2 separate regions of the Homo sapiens genome follow, and region 1 is linked to region 2. Evidence: promoter capture Hi-C in 16 types of primary human blood cells and fetal thymus (Javierre and others, 2016). All regions are on one chromosome and are shown on one strand. The core of a region is centred on a gene start or on the middle of the fragment in contact, and the rest is flanking DNA. Distances in the headings are between cores, read along the strand shown.

Region 1 (5,861 bases), core at 2,032-4,531, 1.7 Mb after region 2:
TCTAATTCAGCCTTACCTAACCTACAACTCACTGCCCCCTTTTCTCCTACTTAATACCATAAAATTGTAGGTGATAATGCATTGTTTGAAAAGAATGATGGGCCAGGTGTGGTGGCTCACACCTGTAATCCCAGCACTTTGGGAGGCCGAGGTGGGTGGATCACGAGGTCAGGAGATCAAGACCATCCTGGCTAAAGAAAAGAATGATGAACTTCGAATGGAGCAGATGGACCTAGTGTTTGCAGTGAAACACAAGTGTCTTTGACTTCAGCTTTAGTCTCCCTCCTATGCCATTTGTGGCATTCCCCTGGGACTGCCATACTATAATTGTGGAGTCAGTTGTATGCCATTTCCTCATAGCCAGAACTTTTGAGTTTATATATTATTCTTTGATAAAATACCTATTTTACAACAGGACATTCTTTTTTTACCTTTCATTGTTTTTGTTCTGTAAAAATGAATACTCTTAGTGAGTAGATTAAGCGCTTTACACACATAATTTTGTATAGCATAATTTACCTTCTAGGAATTTTTTCTTTCCTGAGACTCGATTTCATGGTATTTTTCTAGTAGAGCCTGGGTCTAATCAGAACATGGAACTGTACACAATTGGTATTTTGATACTTATCCATATCACAGCAAAGAAAAGTTTGTAAAATAAATGAATGTTGAAAGCAGTTTCTTCAGTGGACCTGCTTTTCTAAGTGGGAACATTGGTTTTCAATGCTGTGAAGGCTTGGCTGAGATGATCTAGAAAGGAGCCCTCACAAATCTGCATTTTAGAACAAATGCCTTCTTTCTGAATTCTCTAGTATTATTCTACCATGACAAATTTAAGAATAAGCCAAACAATTTTTAAGATCCAACTCCAGCTATAATTGAAATTATTAAGGCACCATACATAAAAGTAGTTATTTTACATTTGAACATATTTGTGTAATCTATTTTATCAACGTATCTGTAATCATCTATTTTATCAACCAAATTTTGAGTTCTCAAAAGATCTGGAGTCATTTCTGTCAGTGTAACTCTACGTAGCCTCTGTCATAATAATGTGAAAGTAGAAAGATACTTGCTAAATATATCTTGATTAAACCTGACTTGTTTCATCTCCTAAACCTAGAACTTTAAACTCAGAACTTTGGTTGATAGGAGAAGGTTTAAGTATAAAAAAAATGTGAATAAGACTGCATTGTGAAAAGTATTACTACTAAGAGCATTTTTTTGTATTATGAAAAGTACCGTAAGATAGTCATGGAATTTGGATAGTGGCCGGGTGCAGTGGCTTACAACTGTAATCCCAGTACTTTGGGAGACCTAGGCAGGTGTATTATTTGAGCTGAGGCATTCAAGACCAGCCTGGGCAACATGGCAAAACCCTGTCTCTACCAAAAAAAAAAATATATATATATATAATATATATACATATGTAAAATATATATTATATAATATATATTATATTATATATAATATATGTATTATATAATATATAAAATATATAATATATATTATATAATATATAAAAATATATAATATATATTATATAATATATAAAATATATAATATAATATATATTATATGATATATATAATATATAATATAATATATAAAATATATATAATATAATATATATTATATAATATATAAAATATATTATATGATATATATAATATAATTTATATAATATAATATATATTATATATATTTTATATATTATATTATATAATATATTATATATATCATATAATATATATTATATATAATATATAAAATATATATGTACATATATAAGTAATATATGTACATATATAATATATCTTATAAAAAGACAATTTCTTATATAAGAAAGTTGAATAGGTACTGGTAAAAATAATAGTTGTTACTCTTTATTAAGTACTATTTGTCGAGCACTTCACTAAGCACTCTATTTACAGTCATACATTGTGAAAGTGTGCTAAATTTATATACTACACAGAGTTTTCAGTTGGGATTTTTGAAAAATATAAATGCTAGAAGAGTAATGATTGTTTAATAGTCTGTATAATCTCTGTAACACTGGGGAAATACATCATTTTCTTGACATAGTTGGAAGTACTGTAAAGAAGGCATGCTTTCTATAACATCTTATTAAAATTACCCATCTTGTGATGAAAACTGATGAAATTAGTATAACCTCTCATCATGATGGCCAAGCTTTGTGACCCTTTATTGGAGTGGTTTTTATTCTAATTATTAACAAGTTTGGTGTCTGAATTCATTCGATATCTAATAAAATTGTTGACAAGGAAATGTAGTTTTGACACTTCAGAAGAGACATTTTCTACTTTATAAAATTAAGTTCCTACATGTGAAATTTGAGAAGCCACCAAAGTAAACATTCTATTATTCATTTAAAGCTCTTAATTGAGCCGGGCGCGGTGGCTCACGGCTGTAATCCCAGCACTTTAGGAGGCTGAGGCTGGCAGATCACGAGGTCAGGAGTTTGAGACCAGCCTGACCAACATGGTGAAACCCCGTTTCTACTACAAATACGAAAATTAGCCAGGCATGGTGGCAGTTGCCTGTAATCCCAGCTACTCCAGAGGCTGAGGCAGGAGAATTGCTTTAACCCAGGTGGCGGAGGTTGCAGTGAGCCGAGATCGTGCCACTGCACTCCAGCCTGGGCAACAGAGCAAGACTCCATCTCACACACACACACACAAAAAGCTCTTAATTGTATGAGCACCTCTATGCCATTTAGAGGCAACCAGTATTAATATTTAAAATTCAATTTTATTTAAGATTGTATTATCAATGTTAACAACCAGACTGAATAATTAAAGGGCCATTAAAGTAATACATAGGAATTAAACATTTTGTATAGAAGAAAAAAATTAAAAACCCTCTTGGTTTAAAATGAAATATTAATATAAGACAGGTGTTTTTGTTTGTTTTTAACTAAATAAGGCTTTTTTTCCTAAAACTATGACATCATTAATAACTTCCCCCATACTCCAATAATAGACAGTTTTTCCCCATCATCTCCCTAGTACCTAGGGCAAACTTACAGTTGTTCTTCGCAATATGAATGGAATGGTAAAGCCTGGAAAGTCCAGTAAAATATATTATCTTATAACTGAGTTTTTCTCACCAAATTTTTAACCACATCTGCTATTGACAGGTAAACAAATTTGAACTGATTGCCTTTTGCTTTCCATGATAATATGCAGGTGAGTGCGCAAATAAGTGGTAAAAGACCAACAAAGCAGTAAAAAGAAATAGACAAAGTATTCAACCAGCAAACTAAAGAACTCATTTCTGAATATTTTTCTATCCCCCTACCCTCCCGTATGAACTCCTTTTTGGCAGTAACTGTCTCATTCTTCCCTAAGTGACAGACACATCAGCTGGAGTACGTCATTTAAGCCAGTGTAGGTGATTTAGGCTGGCAACTTTAAATAGCTGCCATGAAATGTTGTCATTAGTTTGCTATCTGCAGGGAAAACAAAATGAAACAGGAATATACAAAATGAGATAAGAGTCTCTCTTACCTTACATAAACCTTATGTTTGAGGGCAGGGGGCAAACCTTTAAAAAAAAATTATTTATTTATTTAGAGACATGGTTTTGCCATGTTGGCCAAGTTGGCCTCCTGGGCTCAAGTGATCCTCCCGCCTCTGCCTCTCAAAATGCTGGGATTACACGCATGAGTCACCACTCCCAGCTGAAAATTTTTAAAATTTATTGTTAGTTCATATTTGGGAAACAAAAAGCTCACTTTTCAGTCTGAGATTTTGCAAAAGTGGAAGTGTAGTGTAAAAAAATATAAAACATACATACCAATAGCCAGCCTAAAACTGCTTGTTAGCAACCCAAGCTAGTAATTAAAAATTTTGAAATCTGGGAATAAAAGCAAGATTAATTAAAGTACTTGGTGGTTACCCATAGGTGTGTGTGTGTGTGTATGTGTGTGTGTGTGTGTGTGTGATTAGCAACCACTTGGCAATGTATTCAGTATTGTTATTTGACAAATAAGGATGAGGAATTTTGAATTGGAAATAAGGATGATAAATTCCTCATGTACCTTTAAAAATACATCTTTTAAATGAACTCTTACTGAGAGAATAACTACTAAAAGTTTAATTGTAGTTTTTTATTATAATATTTTGCTTTGATTTTATACTAAAAACTGCCAACCAGATAACATCTAAATGTATCTTTTTCAATATGACAAAGTTACATAAGAAGACTCCCCTTGCACGTAAAGAAAAATGCAATTATTTTCTATTCTGAATCTCCAGACTGCTGTTTTAGAAAATCATATCTGATTATTTGCTCAGCAGAAGATTATTGAGTTGATTTAGCTGTGATTTTACTTAACAAAGCTTCAACTGCATTCCTACTGTGGAGTCCGAAAAAGGTAGAGAGATATAAATGATACATTCAAACTGTGATTTTTGTGAACAGGGCCATCGATGCACCCCTCGGAGCTAATAGCGGAGATGAGAAACAGTGGGTTTGCACTGAAACGAAATGTACTGGGGAGAAACTTGACCGCAAATGATCCATCACAGGTAATGATCTTTTTATCAGTAAGCTGAAAATGTCTATAAATCTAAATGTGATTGCTTGTGAATTGCTACTTAATGTTTTCCAATATGCATATATCCATAGGAAAGTAAGATAGAGCAAAGAAAATGCCCAAAATGTGTTTTGATTTTGCTTTATTATTTTAATCTAAATGAGAAATTGTTTATAAACCTGTATTTTAATAAATGAAACTGCTCCTCTGAGTTTATGTGGATAAAATATCTAACTGAACTGGTGATGAGGTTGTTGGTTTTTCCTTCCTGCTAACTTACCCCTGATATGACATTAAATAGAACCAATGGTTAGAAGTATGTAAAAACTCCTAAAAATTGTAGAAAATATTTTAAACTTATTTATTTTATTAAACTATACATAGATCCAGAAAATGATTGAGTTTGAAGGGCTATATTATTATATATTTGATAATGTGCTGTTGAAATTATAATAAAAGCTAAAATTGTGGATATTTTGACATTCCTGTAAAACTCATAATCTTCTTTTTTATATTTCATTAAATTAAAAATAAAGTATTTAAACTGGCAAGAGTTAACATTCAAGAGATAGAGAATGGAAGTCATGCTCTAAACATTTTATCTGTGTGTGTCTATCATCCTTTTCCTGGAAAAGTTTCCTAATGCTGGCAAAGCAGTCATGTTAACCTCTTAGTGCTGTATGATCCACTTCGGCAGGGAGACTACAAAAAAATTTTTTAATTCTCTCCCACTTCCCAATCCAAAATATCATATTCATCTACAGTGTGTCCCTGATACAAAACTTATTTATAAATGTTTTCTTTTTTATCTACTAACTACCTTGTGTTGAAATCTAGCAATTTAATGATATCTTTGTTGACTCAGGAGTATGTTGCAAGTGAGGGTGAAGAAGATCCAGAAGTTGAATTTTTAAAGTCACTAACAACCAAACAAAAACAGAAACTTCTCAGGTAATTTAGAAGTATATATTTAATAGATTTATTTTTTCCTTAGTATTCATCTCAGTATCGTATTCAACTCTGATCCTAAGAGCTCATGAAGGTCCTTATACCATGCATCACATTTATTGATTATTCTTCACCCATAGCTAATACAATTTTGTCTGTCTTTTCAGTAACATGGAAATGAGTGTAAGATTGTATACTCAGATTGTACCACAAAACGATTGCACTTTTCAGAATGTTTAATTTAGAATTAGACTTATTTATAGCTTTTACTTTTCAAAATAGATTTGTGTGTATCTTCGCACACAATTTGTTCTTAGGAAACATTTTTGGCCATTTTTAAAATGTTTTGTAA
Region 2 (6,625 bases), core at 1,549-4,048:
GTGTCTTTTACTGTGAGTAGTTTCGCTGACATGTCTCTGACATGTTTTTTGTAATAAACGTGCTAGAAATGCACTATCAGTGTCATTTAAAAGGTGCAAAAATAGTTTTCAAAGCCACTAATGAATGAAGGTGCTGCTGAGAAATAGTGTTTTCCCTTTCGACAGACTGAGGTCCGGTTTGGCGCAGCCTTTGGGACCAGAGGCGTCGGGTCCCAGAGGAAGGGAAGATGTGGGAGAGCCTCGGGCTGAGTGATAGAGGAAGGGGTCGTCAGTCCTCACCTTAGTCCCCAGTGACTGCGTCTCCGACTTGAAAACCAACTCACAGCAGCCGAAACCGCGAGGAAAACAGATGGGGGCGCCAAACGACAGCAATAAAGGCATCCACGGATTTCCACCCAAGCAGTGCCTCGGTTCACCCACACTCCCGCCAGGGTCTCGCACCACTTCCCACCCCCACCACCCCAGCACGACCCGAGCCTGAACCAAGGTGTCCCATTCAGTCCCTGGAGCAAGCGAGGACTGGGTAGGGGGACCCTTCCTGGGTCACAGGAGCAGCGACTGCCAGGCATGGCAGAATTGGGCATCCGGGCTGCGGAGCAGGGAGGGAGCAGGTGGGGGCGTTGGCAGGGCTGGACTCCCACCGCGCTGATGGCCCCAAAGCCGGCGCAATGAGAACTCAGGGAGCTCGGAGCTGGGTGGCCAATGGGGCAGGGGCAGAGGTGGACGCTGGGTCAAGTCCCAGTCCCGGTGCGCTGGATGCCCACTCTGCGTTCCCCGCCGGTTCCCCGTTCCCCCAGGCACCGCCTGCCTATCGAGCTTTCCGTTTATTACCTTAAAGATGTGGAATTGATTTTCTAAGCAAAGCTCGCGTTGTTGAAATAAGTTGGCGCCGAGGGGAACAGAAGATAAACTTTTGGCATTGACTATATGTGTGTATATATGTATATAAATATACTTCACACCTCGCTTCCCCTTACATTCCTGATGCGCCCCCAACGGGTCTAAGGTTAAAAGGAAAGCGCCAAGAGCTATAGGCGAATAGATCTCGAGCTTGCCCCCTAACACACCCCAATGTTCTGGGTGTGTCGGCAGAAAGAAGAGGGGGCCCTGGTTGGGGTTCGGATTGAGGCTAAATGTGGGGATGCAGGACCCGCGCCCAGCGCCCAGATTGTCAGGGTCTCTCAGCCGCTTCAGAAGCTCACGGGCGGACCTCCGCGTCCCATCCCCGTCCTCCCTCGCCTCCGCCTGTGTCCGCGAATCTCTCTCCGGCTGGGCCGTTGGCGGGTGGGCACAGTGCTTGGAGGGTCAGGGAAGGGTGGGCGCAACCGCGGGAGATGAGGAGCGGCCTGGAGTGAAGATTGATCTTCGTTAAAATGGTTGCCACCGGCGTCATTATGACTATCAAAGTTGTCGCCAAGAGGCTCAGCCTCCAAGCCCAGGCCGCAGAGAGCTGCTGTAAGGCTGTTCGGCGACTCTCTGCGCCCGGACCCAACGCTGGGAATACCTGTGGCCGCAGGTAAGGGGCTGGGGTTGATGAGGGGAGGAAAGAGAGAAGGAAGAAAAGCAAAGGGGAAGGGAGGGCAGCGGGGAGGTAGGGGAAGAAGGCTGTCTCCTCTTTCCTCTTTTGACCTCGAAATCCAGCGCCTTTGCCGCAAATAATTCTATTTGAGGAGGGAGGGGAAAATCTGGCAACGTGAGCGTGGATTCGGAGCGCCCGTATGGCGCTGTAAATCTCCACTGTGTTTAAAGTTAGCTGTCGAATTCTGCTATCAAATCGTCCAGCCTAGTTCGTTTCCCCTCAGGAAAATGCGTAGGCGAGAAGGCTTTCTATCAGCAGGATTATAAAAGTAAAAAACCGGGGACTTCGAGTTCAGATCTCACTCTGCAGACGGTGTTAGAAAATCAGAGAGGACCTAATGATTTCCGTTTGGAGGCGCGGGCCCAATGCACCTCCGCGGCCACGTAGCAAGAAAGCGCTTTCAAAACTCTAGGATATTTCTATTTCTCTCTCTCTCTCTCTCTCTCTTTCTCTCACTCCGTCTCCCTCTCCCTTTCTCCCTCTCTCCCTCTCTCCCTCTCTTCCGCTCTCTCTCTCTCCCGGGGTGGGAGGAGAGCATTTAGGCTGAGGTGAAGAAATAGGGAGGGAAAGAACTCCGGCGTCCTATTTGTTAAATAAAATACATATTTGGTTCCGAAATCCGAAAGATAAGTAATCCAGATAGGAGAGGCGCAAGGTCTTCTCCTTACGCAACTCTTCCTGCATCCTCCCCCTTATCTCCCCCCACTTATGCCCCCAGCTTGTAAATGGTAAAAAAAAAAAAAAAAAAAAAAAAAAAAACCAAACCTTCCCGAGGACCTACTCTGGAAAGTCAAACCATTATCTATTATTTAATACGTATCTGTGTCCAAGGAAAAATGAAGAAGGCGCTGCATGATTAGGACCTAAGGGGCAACCTAGCAAACTGAGAGCGTAATGATGCCCCTAAATGAAGGGGGAAATGTGCCGCGGCGCGCTCTATTAATCAGACTGTCAATTTCACCCCCGAGGCCAAACCCCCGGGCGAGCAGAACTGGCTCGGAGCGGGCAAAGGACCGGAGCCTTCCTCCTCACTTGTCTCTTCTCGCCTCCTACCTGGATCTATTTGTCTGCTCTGAAGCTGCCTTCATTACCCACTGACAGGAGGGTGTATTTATTTGCTTATAAACCTGTTACAATAAATGATTATTCGAACAGCGTCATTCGTACCTTAATGACGAGCGGGCGCTACTTTTTGATGAATGACATCTCGGGATCGGAAGGATGTATGGGTCATTTTGACCAGTCATTCCCTCGCTCTGGCATCCCACAATTTTTCCGCCTCCCTCCGAAAGCGATAATAATATTTAGAGGCGTTCGCTGGGGCTGAATGAGAATTAGCCCTAGGCGCAGCCTATCATTAGGACGGGACAGCAGGGCCACTGTGACATTTTTAAGAAAGCTGAGATGATGGAAAGAATAAGAAAAGAGATGATTCTGATGGAGAGAGGGCTGCACAGCCCTACGGCGGGCAAGAGATTCTCCAATTTGTCCAACTCGGCTGGCAATGCTGTGCTCGAGGCCCTGGAAAATTCGCAGCACCCGGCTCGCCTAAGCCCGCGCCTGCCGTCTGCCCCCCTGCACAGCGCTCTGGGAGAACTCCCCGCCAAGGGCAAATTCGAAATAGACACTTTGTTCAACCTGCAGCACACGGGCAGCGAAAGCACCGTCTCCTCCGAAATCTCCTCCGCCGCCGAGAGCCGCAAGAAGCCGGGCCATTATTCAGAGGCGGCCGCTGAGGCCGACATGAGCAGCGACGTGGAGGTGGGCTGCTCCGCGCTTCGCTCCCCCGGGGGCCTCGGCGCCGCTCAGCTTAAGGAAAACAATGGCAAAGGTAACCGCGCCGGCCGCACCGCGCTCTCCAGTCCCATCCTCTTTGCTCCTCCGCGGCCCCCGCCAGCCTTTCCCGGTGCCTTTTCCCCTCTCAGACCCTCCACAGGCAAGCTACACCGAGCTAGCACGGGCGGGGGCGGGACGCATGTCTGGGACCGTGCCTTCCAGTTCTGCTCCTTGAGCTTTCCCGCCAGGCTCAGGCCTGCGGAGCCTGGAACACCAGGCCCACCCGCCCTCGCTCCTGAGTCCGAGAAAATGTTTCTGCGCTCGTGTCTAAGAGCCCGAGCGAGCCGGTAGACCCCTAGTCAGCAGCCGAGTTGCTTTTGGGAAAGGTACCCTGGGCAACTACTCTGAACTCCCCTGCCCCTGTGCCCTCAGGGCTGGAGGGGGCATTCTTCTGGGTAAGTCGGAGGAAGCCTCGCCGGCGTCTCTGTTTAGGTCAGCGGGAGAAAGAGTTGAAAAGTATATTTCACCCCCTATTGGCTTGGGTTTGAGCTACTGCTGTGTTGGAACTCTTAAAATATTTGAAACCCCGAAGACTCAGATAAAGGTTAGAGGCCGTATAAAAAGCTGCCCTGCGGTCTCCAGACCATGGGAAACCCAGAGCTTCCCAAACTGCGCCCAGAGGTAGGCATTTTCCCTCGGCCACTTTTCCTCCTTGGTTGAAAATTTCTAATTATTAAAAAAGAAATCTCCTAATTCCGTTTCTATTATTTGCTTATGAAGGGCTCCCCAAACTTTATTGATTCCATTAACGGCAGCAATTTGTAAGCATGACAGACCCCATCAATTCCGGCAGCGACTCTCCTTCCTGACGGGGCTTCCCCGATCCGCGCGCAGCGCCAGCGCCGGGCTGTTGGTCCTACAGCCACTCATGCGCTGTTGGTCGTTTGTTTGCCAGGGTACGCAGAGAGCGGCTCGGCTGCCGGCACCACGACGTCGGCGTCGGGCTCAGGCCTCGGAAGCCTGCATGGAGGCAGCGGAGGCAGCGGCGGGAGCGCGGCGCTGGGTGGCTCCGGCTCTGGCGCGGATCAAGTGCGGCGCTACCGTACGGCGTTCACCCGCGAGCAGATCGCGCGCCTGGAGAAGGAGTTCTACCGGGAGAACTATGTGTCGCGGCCCCGCCGGTGCGAGCTGGCCGCGGCACTCAACCTGCCCGAAACCACCATCAAGGTATCAATTCCAGTGCATGCCTGCTCTGGCCTCCCCGGGGGCATCTGGGTTGATTGTTTCTTTTTCCCCTTTCCCCTTTCTGGGTGGCTAGATTTAGCTAAGGGTCTGGAAATCCGCGGGGGGTAGTCACCAAAGGAATTGGCTTATTTATTTCCCGGCCACCGAATCCGAACGGTTGTCCGGCCTGACGGATCTAAGAAGGCCCCCGAATGGTGACTCCAATGCTGAAAGCACTCGCCCCTGCTCCATTGTGCCCAACGCCTGGCCAGATGCCCCCTCGCCCATACCCACGGCCCCACTTTCCCCTAGGCGGCAAGCCCAGTTGGTCTTTGTTCCTCAAGCAGGAACCAGAGGTGAAACTTTTCATTTGCTCTTGAGCTTGGAGATTTATTTTCCGCATAAATCGTTACACGGAGAAAAGGATACTGTATCTTTAAAATCGATTGGTTTGAGACAGTAGTTTCCTGAACATTTTCCTCTTGGGCAACGAAAAAAGGGCAACCTCCTGCGGGGAAAAATGCAACGAAATTGTCCTTATTTATATATAACTTTAGGTTATTAATTTTATTATACGTCTGGGAGAGATAGCCGGGAGGTTAGGCGATTTGGTGAGCCCTTCATGGAGCGTTCGACACTGCAGAAAAAAGAAAAAATCTCCACGGGGTAGGGGAGGAGTGTGGAAGTCTCCCTCTGGTTTGATCGGGCTTTCTTTAATTTAGAGTTGTGACGAATGATGTCTTTATTAGATAGTGTTGGGAGGGGTGGAAACGTCCCCTTCCCCGTTTATGGAGACATTGCTCTACCCACTCATTTAAGGCAAACGATTCCAACAAAATCATCCCTTCAATATCAAAATCGGACCCGTGCCCCTAGGGGCAGGTCCTTGCAGTTCGGAGGGCTCAAGACTTCGCGCGGCGACCTCTCAGAAAAGCTGAGCGGCAGCCTCTCTTCAAAGGCTGCCCAGAATCCCCGTACAAATCCTGGGATTGAGAGACGGGTGCTCAGCGAGACCGGCACTGGTGGGTGGCGGGAGGGAGAGGAAAGGTTGGATTGGGACAAAAAAGTGCAGCAAGAAGTAAGGGAATAAAAGCCTGAGGAGCAGCAGCAGCCGGACGCGGGGGAGAGGACCCTCTTCGTTGAGGACGGTGTGCCCACGGCGGTCCACACACTGCCGTCCACACTTTCCCAGCTGGGAGACCACAGGGTACTCGGGGTTGGGCTTGGTCGGAGAGAAGTAGACCAAGCCATTCAGAGGTCCGGAAGGGGCAGAGGTCCTGGGACAGGAGCTGGGAACACGGGGCGCTCCCTAACCCAGGCTGCGGCGCGTCTCTCCCCGCAGGTGTGGTTCCAGAACCGGCGCATGAAGGACAAGCGGCAGCGCCTGGCCATGTCCTGGCCGCACCCAGCCGACCCCAGCTTCTACACCTACATGATGACGCACGCGGCCGCCACCGGAAGCCTGCCCTACCCCTTCCACTCGCACGTGCCGCTGCACTACTACCCGCACGTGGGCGTCACGGCGGCGGCGGCCGCGGCTGCAGCCTCAGGCGCGGCGGCCGCGGCTTCGTCGCCCTTCGCTACTTCCATCCGGCCACTGGACACCTTCCGCGCCCTCTCGCACCCCTACTCTCGGCCGGAGCTGCTGTGTAGCTTCCGCCACCCTGGTCTCTACCAGGCTCCCGCGGCCGCCGCGGGGCTCAACAGCGCGGCCTCTGCCGCGGCAGCCGCGGCAGCCGCAGCGGCTGCGGCCTCCTCGGCGGCGGCGGCCGGCGCGCCCCCCAGCGGCGGCTCTGCACCCTGCTCGTGCCTCAGTTGCCACAGCAGTCAGTCGGCGGCGGCAGCCGCGGCAGCAGCTGCCGCAGCCCTGGGTTCCCGGGGTGGCGGTGGCGGCGGCGGTGGTGGTGGTGGCGGCGGCGGCGGGGGCGCCGGGGCCGGGGGAGGCTCGGACTTCGGCTGCAGCGCGGCGGCGCCGCGTTCCGAGAGCGGCTTCCTGCCCTACTCGGCCGCGGTGCTTAGTAAGACGGCCGTGAGCCCGCCGGACCA

The links. Contacts are between HindIII fragments. The CHiCAGO score rates a contact against its expected background, and 5 or more counts as called.
Region 1: a fragment that was not itself captured here is called in contact with the fragment with the promoter of EVX2 in region 2 in 1 of 17 cell types (total B cells); the score reaches 5.2 in total B cells.

The regions. Positions count from the first base shown.
Region 1 is chr2:174,350,311-174,356,171 of GRCh38, reverse strand. CIRSR (corepressor of RBPJ and splicing regulator) reads left to right here. Exons shown (of 10, transcript NM_004882.4): 8 at 4,447-4,553; 9 at 5,427-5,512. Among named protein-coding and RNA genes, the nearest start is that of SP9, 18 kb to the right of the region's middle. The HindIII fragment of the contact is 2,171 bases long and covers 2,196-4,366 here.
Region 2 is chr2:176,080,135-176,086,759 of GRCh38, reverse strand. It overlaps EVX2 (even-skipped homeobox 2), which reads left to right and starts at 2,798. Exons shown (of 3, transcript NM_001080458.2): 1 at 2,798-3,410; 2 at 4,311-4,582; 3 at 5,922-6,625. The coding sequence starts at 2,984. RefSeq lists enhancers at 149-973, 3,424-4,039. The HindIII fragment of the contact is 15,744 bases long and covers 1-6,625 here.